4 separate regions of the Homo sapiens genome follow, and regions 2, 3 and 4 are each linked to region 1. Evidence: promoter capture Hi-C in human tissues and cell types (Jung and others, 2019). All regions are on one chromosome and are shown on one strand. The core of a region is centred on a gene start or on the middle of the fragment in contact, and the rest is flanking DNA. Distances in the headings are between cores, read along the strand shown. Region 1 holds the start of NDUFS8 (NADH:ubiquinone oxidoreductase core subunit S8). Region 2 has its middle 10 kb from the start of GSTP1. Region 3 overlaps LRP5 (LDL receptor related protein 5). Region 4 overlaps LRP5 (LDL receptor related protein 5).

Region 1 (2,570 bases), core at 43-2,542:
TGATTCAGCTTGGCTGAGCTACAATTCAGTTTCTGTGGACCCCAAGTTCTGCCTCACCTAAGAAACCTTTTAAATCCATCCTTCCTTTCTCCCTCCCAGAGATCCTGTTTCCCACCTTTCTGCTCCTCCCTTCATCCTCCCCAAATCTAACCAAAAACAACATTACCAGCCCCCGCCAGCATGCACTGAGAGCGAACTTTGTTAGCTCTCCTCCCCCAGGAACCGTGCCCAGGGGTGGAAAGCGCTGCCATCCTATCCTTACAAGGACTCCACGAGGGAGGCACAAATAAGGCGCTGGGACTCAGTTTGTTGAGTGACTCGCTAGGGCTGGGTGTGGTGGCTCACGCCTGTAATCCCAGCACTTTGGGAGGCTGAGGCAGGTGGATCACCTGAGGTCAGGAGTTTGAGACCAGCCTGGCTAACATGGTGGAACCCCGTCCCTACCAAAAAATACAGAAATTAGCCAGGTGTGGTGGTGGGCACTTATAATCCCAGCTACTCGGGAGGTTGAGGTAGGAGAATCGCTTGAACCCAGGAGGCAGAAGTTGCAGTGAGCCCAGACTGCACCACTGCCCTCCAACCTGGGCGACAGAGTGAGACCTTGTCTCAAAAAAAAGATAAAAAAGTGACTTGTCGGAAGTCACACGATAAGGAGGTGGGCCGAGGATCGGAACCCAGCCCTGCCCTGCTGGAAACTCTTCAAGGCCTGAACAGTCCTCGGTACCACATTCCTTTCCCCAGCTTCAAGGCCCTCCTGGAACTGTCCCCCAGCCTGCCGCGTGACCTTGGGCAGATGATGTGACCTGACCTCCGTCTTCTCACCTATGAAGTGGGTTGGGGGCGGTTGGTCTTGGGAATTAGGGGAGCCCGTACATGCCAAGGGCACCCCAGAGCCCGGCACTTAGCCGGCGCTCATAAGAGCTCATCCCACGACCTGTGAACCCCCTAACAGGCCCACTCCTTTGGATCACTGACTGCAGTTCCAGGGACCCAACCCAGCACCTTCCCCACCTTCCCAGTGATCTCCGACCCTAACTAGGCCGGTGGCGCAGAGCGGGCGGCGCATGCGCCCTGAGAGCCGGCTCCCCGCTGCACCTGAAGGACACGGAGGCCGCGGATCCTGAGTGAGCCGAGGGGAAGCCCAGGCGCAGAGCTGGCGGCGCCAACGGGGACACCACACTCGCCCCCGACGCCACGCTGCCCAAGCCCGACTTTCACGGCCAAAACGTGAACACCCACCTTGAAGCGCCGCCGCTACTTGCCTTGCCAAGCAGGCCAGTCAATCGGGAGGCGGAGGCTACACTGTAGGACGCTGCCATTGGGCCAGCGGGTTCCCCCTTTTCTGTATTGATGCTTCATGGTGTGGTCTGATTGGCCAGCAAGGCTGCTGAAAGAGGCGGGATTCAGAAATATCTTTCTTTTGATTGGCTAGGAGAGACCGGCGCTTGAAGTTTGTAGGGGGCCGCCATGTTGGTTTGGGGAGGCCAATAAGTGAAGACCTCCGAGCCGCTGGAGGCGGGACATCCGGGGCGTGGTTTAGAAAGAGTGCTTTCGCCGTGGGTGCAGAGGGTGGGCCCGCCGGGTTGGGTGGGGGGCGTGTGATGACGGTAATGGCGACGAGATGCTCAACTCACGCGGCCTCTTTTAATCCTCACAGCAGCTCTGCGTGGAGAAACTACAGTAACGTGTTACCACGTTAAGGCGGGAAGCTGAGGCATGGGAGTATTTAGTAACGTTCCCGGGCCGTAGAGCTGCGGTGTGCGGCCGCCTGATCCACCTGATCTGTATGACTCCCGTACTCAACCAGCCTATGTTTCCTACCAGCGAATTTTTTTTTTTTTTTTTTTTTTTTTCTTTTTTTGAGACAATCTGGCTCTGTGGCTCAGGCTGGAATGCAGTGGTGCGATCTCGGCTCACTGCAGCCTCGACCTCCCAGGCTCGGGTGATCCTCACTTCTCAGCCTCCCGAGCAGCTGGAACCACAGTCGCCTGCCACCACCAGGCTCGGCTAATTTTTGTATTTTTTGTAGAGACGGGGTCTCGCCATGTTGCCCAGGCTGGTCTGGAACTCCTGGACTCAGGCGATCCTCCTGCCTCGGCCTGCCAAAGTGCTGGGATTACAGGCGTGAGCCACCACGCCGGGCCTTTCCCCGGGAATGCTGTGGTAGAGGGACCCGCAGAGGCCCCGAGGCTGCCTGCATGTGTGTGTTGGGAGGATCTGCGCTGAGGGTAGGTAGGAGTTGGGCAGGCCAGGACAGGAAGGAGGCAGAGGGCATGTCCCATGCCCGTGCAGAGGGAGGACACGCATGGTAGACCAGGACGAGGACAAGGGCAGGCTCAGTGTGTGCAAAGGGGACAGTGGTTTGGGATTTGCATGCAGATGCCCGAGCCTCCAAAGGACCTGTGGGCCACAGGGAGACCCTGGGGGAGTTCAAGCTGAGGAGTGGAGAGGGCTTTGGGCTGGTCAGCAGGTGCTCAGAGGAGAGGGGCTGGCCCTAGAGAGAAGGGAGGTCTTGGGATGGTGGCCCACACCTGACCCTGGCCCTTCATCAGGTGATTCCTGCGTGGATG
Region 2 (2,570 bases), core at 22-2,521, 440 kb after region 1:
ATGTAGTAGTAATAAGAGATTGTAAAAGATTTTTGTTTGCCTTTTGAGCAAACTGCAAAGTGAAAAAAATAAAAAAAGAGGAGCGAGTTTGCCTTATGCTTCCTTCATTAGGTCTTTGGATTGTTTAGAAAACTGAGTCTCCTCTCTATCAAACAATAAAGGTTTTTGCTTTCGGAAATCTTTTTTTTTTTTAGATGGAGTTTCGCTCTTTTTGCCCAGGCTACAGTGCAATGGTGCGAACTTGGCTCAATGCAACCTTCCCCCCACCCCCCGTGTTCAAGCGATTCTCCTGCCTTAGCCTCTTGAGTAGCGGGGATTACAGGCACCTGCCACCATGCCCAACTAATTTTGTATTTTTAGGGGAGACAGGGTTTCACCATGTTGGCCAGACTGGTCTCGAACTCCTGACTTCAGGTGATCCTCCCACCTTGGCTTCCCAAAGTGCTGGGATTACAGATGTGAGTCACCACACCCAGCTTTTCTGAAATCTTTCAGTTATCACTTTGGCTAAATGAATGACTATTATTTTGAAGTTCCCCATGATTCTATTTTGAACAAGTCTTTTAAACCTTTTCTATTTTAATATCAAGTGTTTTAAAGCTTTGGTATTTGACAAACTTCCAAAAATGAAAATTCAAATTCTAAATTAAGCCATTTTGACCTCAAACTAACGTTTCAACATTTGAAAAAGAAAAAAAAAACCCATGTAAGTTCAAGAGAACTTGGTATTATTTGGCATGTAAAAATTACACAGCAAGCATTGTCAAAAAAGAAATGACATTTAACTTTCTTTGAGTTATATTTGTGAAATGTGTTATTAATATGTGTTCCAAAATTATATGAGATTCCTAAAAATCTGATATGTGTTGGTATATATTATCAGTCATTATTGTAAGTATTGTGTTGAATTATAGTGATACGGAAGGGGGGCAGGGAAGTGCTGGGTAGAGGAATGTGTAGTCCCTGGCTAGGGCTCCACCCCCAGGCCTGTGCCCATGGACCTGGGTGAAGACAGGCATTTTTGTTTTCCTGCCCAAATATTGCATTTCCAAAGAGCACCCTGGCCCACCACACCCATATCCTGTGCCTATAAAAACCCTGAGACCCTAGCAAGCAGACACACAAGCAGCTGGACGTGGAGAGGAACACATTGGCAGAAGAAGACACAAGTGGCTGGACGTTGAGAGGTCATTGAGGGGTGCCAGCTCTGTCCCACAGACCCTGGCCAACAGAGGAAATGAGTACCCAGACACAGGTATGCAGTGTTAAGAGCAGCTAGGTGACTGCCTGGCTCTAGTGGAAGAAGCTGGAGCTGCTTTGCTTTTATTCAGTGCAGGCACAATGTCGAAAACCTGGAGCCGACACAATCTGTAAGTCATTAATATTTATTATTCCCCTTTCAGGGAACCTCATGTTCCCTGAAACATGATCATAGGTGATCATAGATGATCTAAGGTCAGTTCCTGGTCGACATAAGTAAACATGCCTATTTAAGATAAAATCCCCCATACTCCCTTGTACCTACTCCTTGCCCTCTGCCTCAGGGTTATAGAAGAGCTGCCTTCAGTTCTTCTCCCCCAGGGCTCTGCAGAACCTTCCCACCTTTCAGAAGGTTTGCGTCCTTTCCCTATAGTTCTTCCCACCTCTCTGACCAATCTGCCACAGAAGGGAGCAGGCTGGTGGAAGAGCACACGACAGACGCCAGCATGCCGGCAGGCCATCCACCTGCAGAACGAGGCGGAGTTTGGCCGGGCAGTCAAAGGCAAGCCCAGGCCGCTGAGCAGCCTGACTCCAGGGCAAAACCTTCCCACTCCATGCCCTTCTGGCTTCCTCCAACTGCTGAGAGTTACCTCCACTCAATAAAACCTTGCACTCATTCTCCAAGCCCAGGTGTGATCCTATTCTTCCAGTACACCAAGGCAAGAACCTGGGATACAGAAATCCCTCTGTCCTTGTAACAAAGCAGAGGGTCTAATTGAGCTGCTGGTTAACACAAGCTGCCTATAGATGGCAAAACTAAAAGAGCACCCTGTAACACATGCCCACTAGGGCTTCAGGAGCTGTAAACATCCACCCCTAGATGCTGCCGTGGGTTGGAGCCCCACAACCTGCCCATCTGTATGCTCCCCTGCAGGTCTGAGCAGCGGGGCACTGAAGAAGCGAGCCACTCCCCCATCACATGCCCTGCAAGGGGGACAAGGGAACCCTTCCCGTTTCAGTAGGCCACAAAAAAATAAAATGACCAAATTTCTTTGTTGATTGCATCTTTGACCATGACTACTTTAAATCTTGCCCTATTCCTTCTTGGAGAGCTCCCTCCAATCTTCATGGAAACTAATGAACCCATTTCACTGGTCAAATAATTCAGTTTATTTGTAACGTATGGCTGATTTTTCAACATTTCCATTGTCCATACCACCCTCAGTCTTCCAGACTTGTGAAATGCACAAATAATAAAAATCAAATTGGCAAAGCTTATAGAAACTTTTTTTTTTTTTGAGACAGTCTCCCTCTTGTCGCTCAGGCTAGAGGGCAGTGGCGCGATCTCAGCTCACTGCAACCTCCGCCTC
Region 3 (2,570 bases), core at 43-2,542, 320 kb before region 1:
CAGCGAGGGCATACGAGGGGCTCCAGGGATGAGTGGTTGCCCAGCACAGCACCCCTGGGAGGCCGGGGGCACTTCTCAGGTAGTGGGGGCACGAGGCTGCTCTGGCCTGACCTCAGGGACTCAAAATACTTTGGCGATAAATTCCACCGTGTCCCACCCCTGCTGGTACCCCATACTTACACACAGACTGGTTCAGATGCAGACACTCTCGCGCACATACTCGCTCACACGGGCACATACACGTGCACACACAGTCACATGCGCACACTCATACACACACAAATATCCACTCACACGCATGCATGCACACACACGGACACACACAGGCTCACACGTATGCACGCATATGCGTGCACACGCACACACACACACACACGCTCACATCCTCCCACTCCCACACTCAGTTGCTCAGACACACACACGCCTGGCTCTCACACAAACCTGTTGGGCTCTGAAAGGCTCCAGCCCTTCCCATGCTCGTCAGAAGCCAGTCAATGGCTTCCTAAGTCACCACACAGATCAAAGAGGTGAACTTGGCCACATGGCACTCTGCTTCCTGAGCTCCCAAACACCAGCCTTGGTGAGGACAGACCCTCACCCCACACCCTCATTCCCACTACCCTGGGCAGGCCCAGAGGAGGGGCATCTGCAGGATCTGGCAACCAGCCCCTCCCGCCCGGCTCCTGCAGCCGGCACCATGGGAGTCAGGGGGAGGTCACTGCAAAGGGCAACAGCAAGTTGGTGGCCCCAGGACTAGAGCCCAGGGGTCTTCAGTCCTACTCCAGAGCTTGGACACTGTCCCACAGGGCATGGCCAAGGGAAGGGCTTCCAGAGCCCTGACTTCAGGGAGGAGGGCAGGCGGGCTCCTGTGGCAGGCCTGGATGCATGGCCGCCCACTCCTGGGACTTTCTAACCTAGAAGATCTAGGTCAGGCTGGGTGCAGTGGCTCACGCCTGCAATCCCAACACTTTGGGAGGCCGAGGAGGGTGGATCACTTGAGGTTAGGAGTTTGAGACCAGCCTGGCCAACATGGCGAAACCCTGTGTCTACTAAAAATACAAAACCTAGCCAGGTGTGGTAGTGCACGCCTGTAATCACAGCTACTCAGGAGGCTGAGGCAGGAGAATCACTTGAACTCGGGAGGTGGAGGTTGCAGTGAGCTGAGATCGTGCCATTGCGCAAAGAAGATCTAGGCCGGCCCCTCAACCGGTGAGGTCCAGGCTGGGAGTGCTGAGAGACTGTGGTGACACTGAATGAACTAACAGGCAAAGGGCTTCCAACTGAGCCTGGGGGTGGTGGGAAATGGCTCTTGTGTTCTAGTCAAGACCTCTGCCAACCAGTTCTGACACTGACCCAGCACAGAACCTGACAGGTCAGCAAGGGCCAGGGCTTAGCACAGCCCAGGTAAGGGTGTGTGTACGGCCCCCAGAGTCACTCCCAGGCTGCAAGAAAAGGGACAAAGGAGGGACAAGGGGTGGCCAAGCAAACTGTTCCCTCTGCTCGGGAGTCTGGGGTGACCTGGCCTAGCTGGCCAGTGGAGCTGGGCCACCTCCCCTTAAACTCTCCACCCCGGACTTCGACTCCAAAGCTTTCCTGCCACCCACGCTCTCCCCACCTGGGATCACGGCCAGGCCCTGAGCCTTCAAGGGCCCAGGTGAACTCAGCCAGACTAGGAGCTGAGGAGGACACAGGGCAGCTTCCAGAACGGACCCGAGAACCACTCCCAGCAGGTTCTGCTTCCAGACAAGGAGCTGCACTTTTTCAGCCAATGCAATTAGAAAGCCAGGAGAAGGTGCAAATTCCACCTGCCTGAGCGTCCGCACTTCCCAGGCCGCCCACCATACACACAGCAAAGATGTGTTTAACCATTCAAACCCATGGCCAACCACATCGGTTGCCTCAGACATGCAAGTTTTAAAAAGGAACATAACTATGGGCCAGGCACGGTGGTTCACGTCTGTAATCCCAGCACTTTGGGAGGCCGAGGTGGGTGGATCACCTGAGGTCAGGAGTTCGAGACCAGCCTAGACACCATGGTGAAACCCCATCTGTACCAAAACTACAAAAATTAGCTGGGCGTGGTGGTGGGCGCCTGTAATCCCAGCTACTTGGGAAGCTGAGGCAGGAGAATCACTTGAACCCGGGAGGCGAAGGTTGCAGTGAGCCGAGATTGTGCCACTGCACTCCAGCCTGGGCAACAAGGGAGACTCCATCTCAATTAAAAAAAAAAAAAAAAAAAAGGAACATAACTATGGAATCTCAAGGGGAAGTAATTCCTTCAACAATAACAAATCTTGAAAGCTGAGCTCTTTTTTTTTTTTGAGACAGGATCTCCTCACTTTGTCGCCCAGGCTGGAGTGCAGTGGTGGGATCACAGCTCACTGCAGCCTCGATCTCCCAGGCTCAAATGATCCTCCTACCTCAGCCTCCCAAGAAGCTGGGATTACAGGTGCATACCATCACACCCGATTCATTTTTGTATACTTTGTAGAAATGGGGTCTCACCATGTTGCCCAGTGTGGTCTTGAATTCCTGGACTCAGGTGATCTGCCCGCCTTGGCCTCCCAGAG
Region 4 (2,570 bases), core at 18-2,517, 290 kb before region 1:
CATAAAAGAGCAGCATTTACAATGAATGGATAGGATGGACCATCCCACCAAGGTGTTGGACAACTCCCTATTCACTGGCCAGACCCCTACCTCATACCATATACAAAAAAAAAAAAAAAAAAAAAACCCAGACAGAATAATGTCTGAATGTAAAACATAAAACAGTAACAGTCCTGGAAGAAAATAATGGAGGATATATTTATAATCTGGAGATGGAGTAACAAGGGATAGGAAAAAAGCCATAGGGAAAAAGTAGAGTTATGATTATATGAAGCTTCTTAATATCTTTATGATAATGTACCACCAGAAACAAGGATGAAGGACTAGCTACAGACCAGCAGTGAAACCTGAAACAAACAGAACAAAGAATTAAAGTCCATACCAAATAAAGACCTCCCACAAATCTATAAGAAAAAGATAAACAGGCTGGCACCGTGGCTTATGTCTGTAATCCCAGCACTTTGGGAGGCGGAGATGGGTAGGTCACTTGAGGTCAGGAGTTCGAGACCAGCCTGGCCAACATGGTGAAACCCTGTCTCTACCAAAAATACAAAAATTAGCCAGGCGTGGTGGCGCATGCCTGTAGTCCCAGCTACTTGGGAGGCTGAGCCAGGAGAACAGCTGGAACCCGGGAGGCAGAGGTTGCAGTGAACCAAGATGGCAATCGCGCCACTGCACTCCAGCCTGGAGGACACAGCGAGACTCTGTCTCAAAAAAAAAAAAAAAAGAAGAAGAAGAAAAAAGAAAAGAAAAAGACAACAGAAAAATGGGCCAAGGATAAGTGTAGGCAATTTGCAGAAAAGTAAATACCAATAAACCAGAAATGAGGGTTGTGCAAATCAAAAGGTGTTATAATTTTTAACCAAACTGGACCAAAGAAAACACCAAAAACCAAAATCTTGTAATTGCCAGCATCAGAGAGGATATAGGAAAGTGTGTGTTCTCGTAGATGCTTGCAGGTATGAACTGCTACAGCCTTTTAGGAGTTATGTATGTATGTATGCTTGTATGTATGTATTTGAGACAGGGTCTCGCTCTGTTGCCCAGGCTAGATCTGTTGCAGTGCTGTGATCATGGCTTACTGCAGCCTTGACCTCCTGAGCTCAATAGATTTTCCCACCTCAGCCTTTCAAGTAGCTGAGACTACAGGAGTGTGCAATCATACTCAGCTAATTTTTTAAATTTTTTGTAGACATGGGGGGTCTCCCAATTTTGCCCAGGCTGGTCTCGAACTCCTGGACTCAAGTGATCCTCCTGCCTCAACCTCCCAAAGTGCTGGGATTACCTGGATGAGCCACTGTGCCCGGCCTCAATATCTTTAAAAACAGAAATGGACACACTCTTTGACTAGGAATGTATCCTATAAAAACACTTATACACATGCAGAGACACACGAGCAAGCATGCTTTGTAATAGCAATGAAGGCTGGAAAAACTCCTCAATCAGGTAAATGCTGTCAAGTGCACCTGTGTACTATGAAATGGCACTTGGCTTTTAACAAGAGCAAAGACAGAAAAGCAAAAGTACAAAGTAGGGTGTGATGGCACATGCCTGCAGTCCCAGCTACTCAGGAGGCTGAGGCAGGAAGATCCTTTGAGCCCAGGAGTTGGAGGCCAGGAGCTGGGCAATAGTGAGAAAAAATAAAATTAAATAATAATAATAATAAAATAGGCTGGGCACAGCGGCTCATGCCTGTAATCCCAACACTTTGGGAGGCTGAGGTGGGAGGATCGCTTGATCCCAGGAGTTCAAGGCCAGCCTGGGCAGCAAAGCAAGACACCCATCTCAACGACAAATTTTAAAAAATCAGCCAGGCAGGCTGGGCATGGTGGCTCACGCCTGTAATCCCAGCACTTTGGGAGGCCGAGGCAGGCAGATCACTTGAGGTCAGGAGTTCGAGACCAGCCTGGCCAACGTGGCAAAACCCTGTCTCTACTAAAAATACAAAAATTAGCTGGGCATGGTGGCAGATGCCTGTAGTCCCAGCTACTGAGGCACAAGAATCGCTTGAACCAGGGTGGCAGAAGTTACAGTGAGCCGAGATCGTGCCACCGCACTCCATCCTGGGCGTGAGTGAGACTCCTGTCTCAAAAAAAAAAAAAAAAAAAAAAACAAGGAGCCAGGCACGGTGGGGTGAGGGAGGGCACAGAAGCAGCGCCTCTTCTGGGGGCACCCCCAATCTCTAGCGATCCAGAGGCCTCAGGATCCTGAAGGGAGAAAAAACGTGAAGCTCCGTGCTAGAAGAGACCATAGAGATTGGAATCAGCTGGTTCTATTTTACAAAAAAAGGAAACTGAGGCCCTCAGAAGGTGAGTGCCTCTCAATGCCCCACAGGGAGGCAGGGAGAGGGCTCTGAGCCCTGCAGGGCCCTGGATTCTTGCAATGGGGTGGAGTGGAGCCTGTGCCGCCCCCACCAGGCACCTTCTCAGGAGAGGAGCCGTTGTCATATCCTTGAAGGGGTCCTTGAGCCCCTCAAAAGGCTAAAAACCACTTTCCTCCTTGAGTGAACCTTCACCTCAGTTTAACCACAAGAAAAACTACATTAAGGCCCAGCGCAGTGGCTCATGTCT

Evidence for each region. The method cuts DNA at HindIII sites, captures the fragments that hold promoters and counts their contacts. A contact is called where the count stands out against the background at its distance.
Region 2: a contact is called between a fragment that was not itself captured here and the fragment with the promoter of NDUFS8 in region 1, in 1 of the 25 tissues and cell types used here (dorsolateral prefrontal cortex).
Region 3: a contact is called between a fragment that was not itself captured here and the fragment with the promoter of NDUFS8 in region 1, in 1 of the 25 tissues and cell types used here (heart right ventricle).
Region 4: a contact is called between a fragment that was not itself captured here and the fragment with the promoter of NDUFS8 in region 1, in 2 of the 25 tissues and cell types used here (bladder and dorsolateral prefrontal cortex).

Annotation. Positions count from the first base shown.
Region 1 is chr11:68,029,403-68,031,972 of GRCh38, reverse strand. NDUFS8 (NADH:ubiquinone oxidoreductase core subunit S8) reads right to left here and starts at 1,292. Exons shown (of 7, transcript NM_002496.4): 1 at 1,240-1,292. It overlaps GLTC1 (glycolysis associated regulator of LDHA post-transcriptional modification 1), which reads left to right and starts at 1,539. Exons shown (of 4, transcript NR_197583.1): 1 at 1,539-1,680; 2 at 2,553-2,570. RefSeq lists enhancers at 1,086-1,265, 1,257-1,551. The HindIII fragment of the contact is 8,880 bases long and covers 1-2,570 here.
Region 2 is chr11:67,592,603-67,595,172 of GRCh38, reverse strand. No RefSeq gene overlaps it. Among named protein-coding and RNA genes, the nearest start is that of GSTP1, 10 kb to the right of the region's middle. The HindIII fragment of the contact is 3,217 bases long and covers 1-2,570 here.
Region 3 is chr11:68,348,698-68,351,267 of GRCh38, reverse strand. All of the region lies in intron 2 of LRP5 (LDL receptor related protein 5), which reads right to left. Among named protein-coding and RNA genes, the nearest start is that of LRP5, 37 kb to the right of the region's middle. The HindIII fragment of the contact is 8,182 bases long and covers 1-2,570 here.
Region 4 is chr11:68,318,615-68,321,184 of GRCh38, reverse strand. All of the region lies in intron 1 of LRP5 (LDL receptor related protein 5), which reads right to left. It overlaps LOC124900302 (a long non-coding RNA gene), which reads right to left. Exons shown (of 2, transcript XR_007062749.1): 1 at 1-2,570. Among named protein-coding and RNA genes, the nearest start is that of LRP5, 7.3 kb to the right of the region's middle. The HindIII fragment of the contact is 3,073 bases long and covers 1-2,570 here.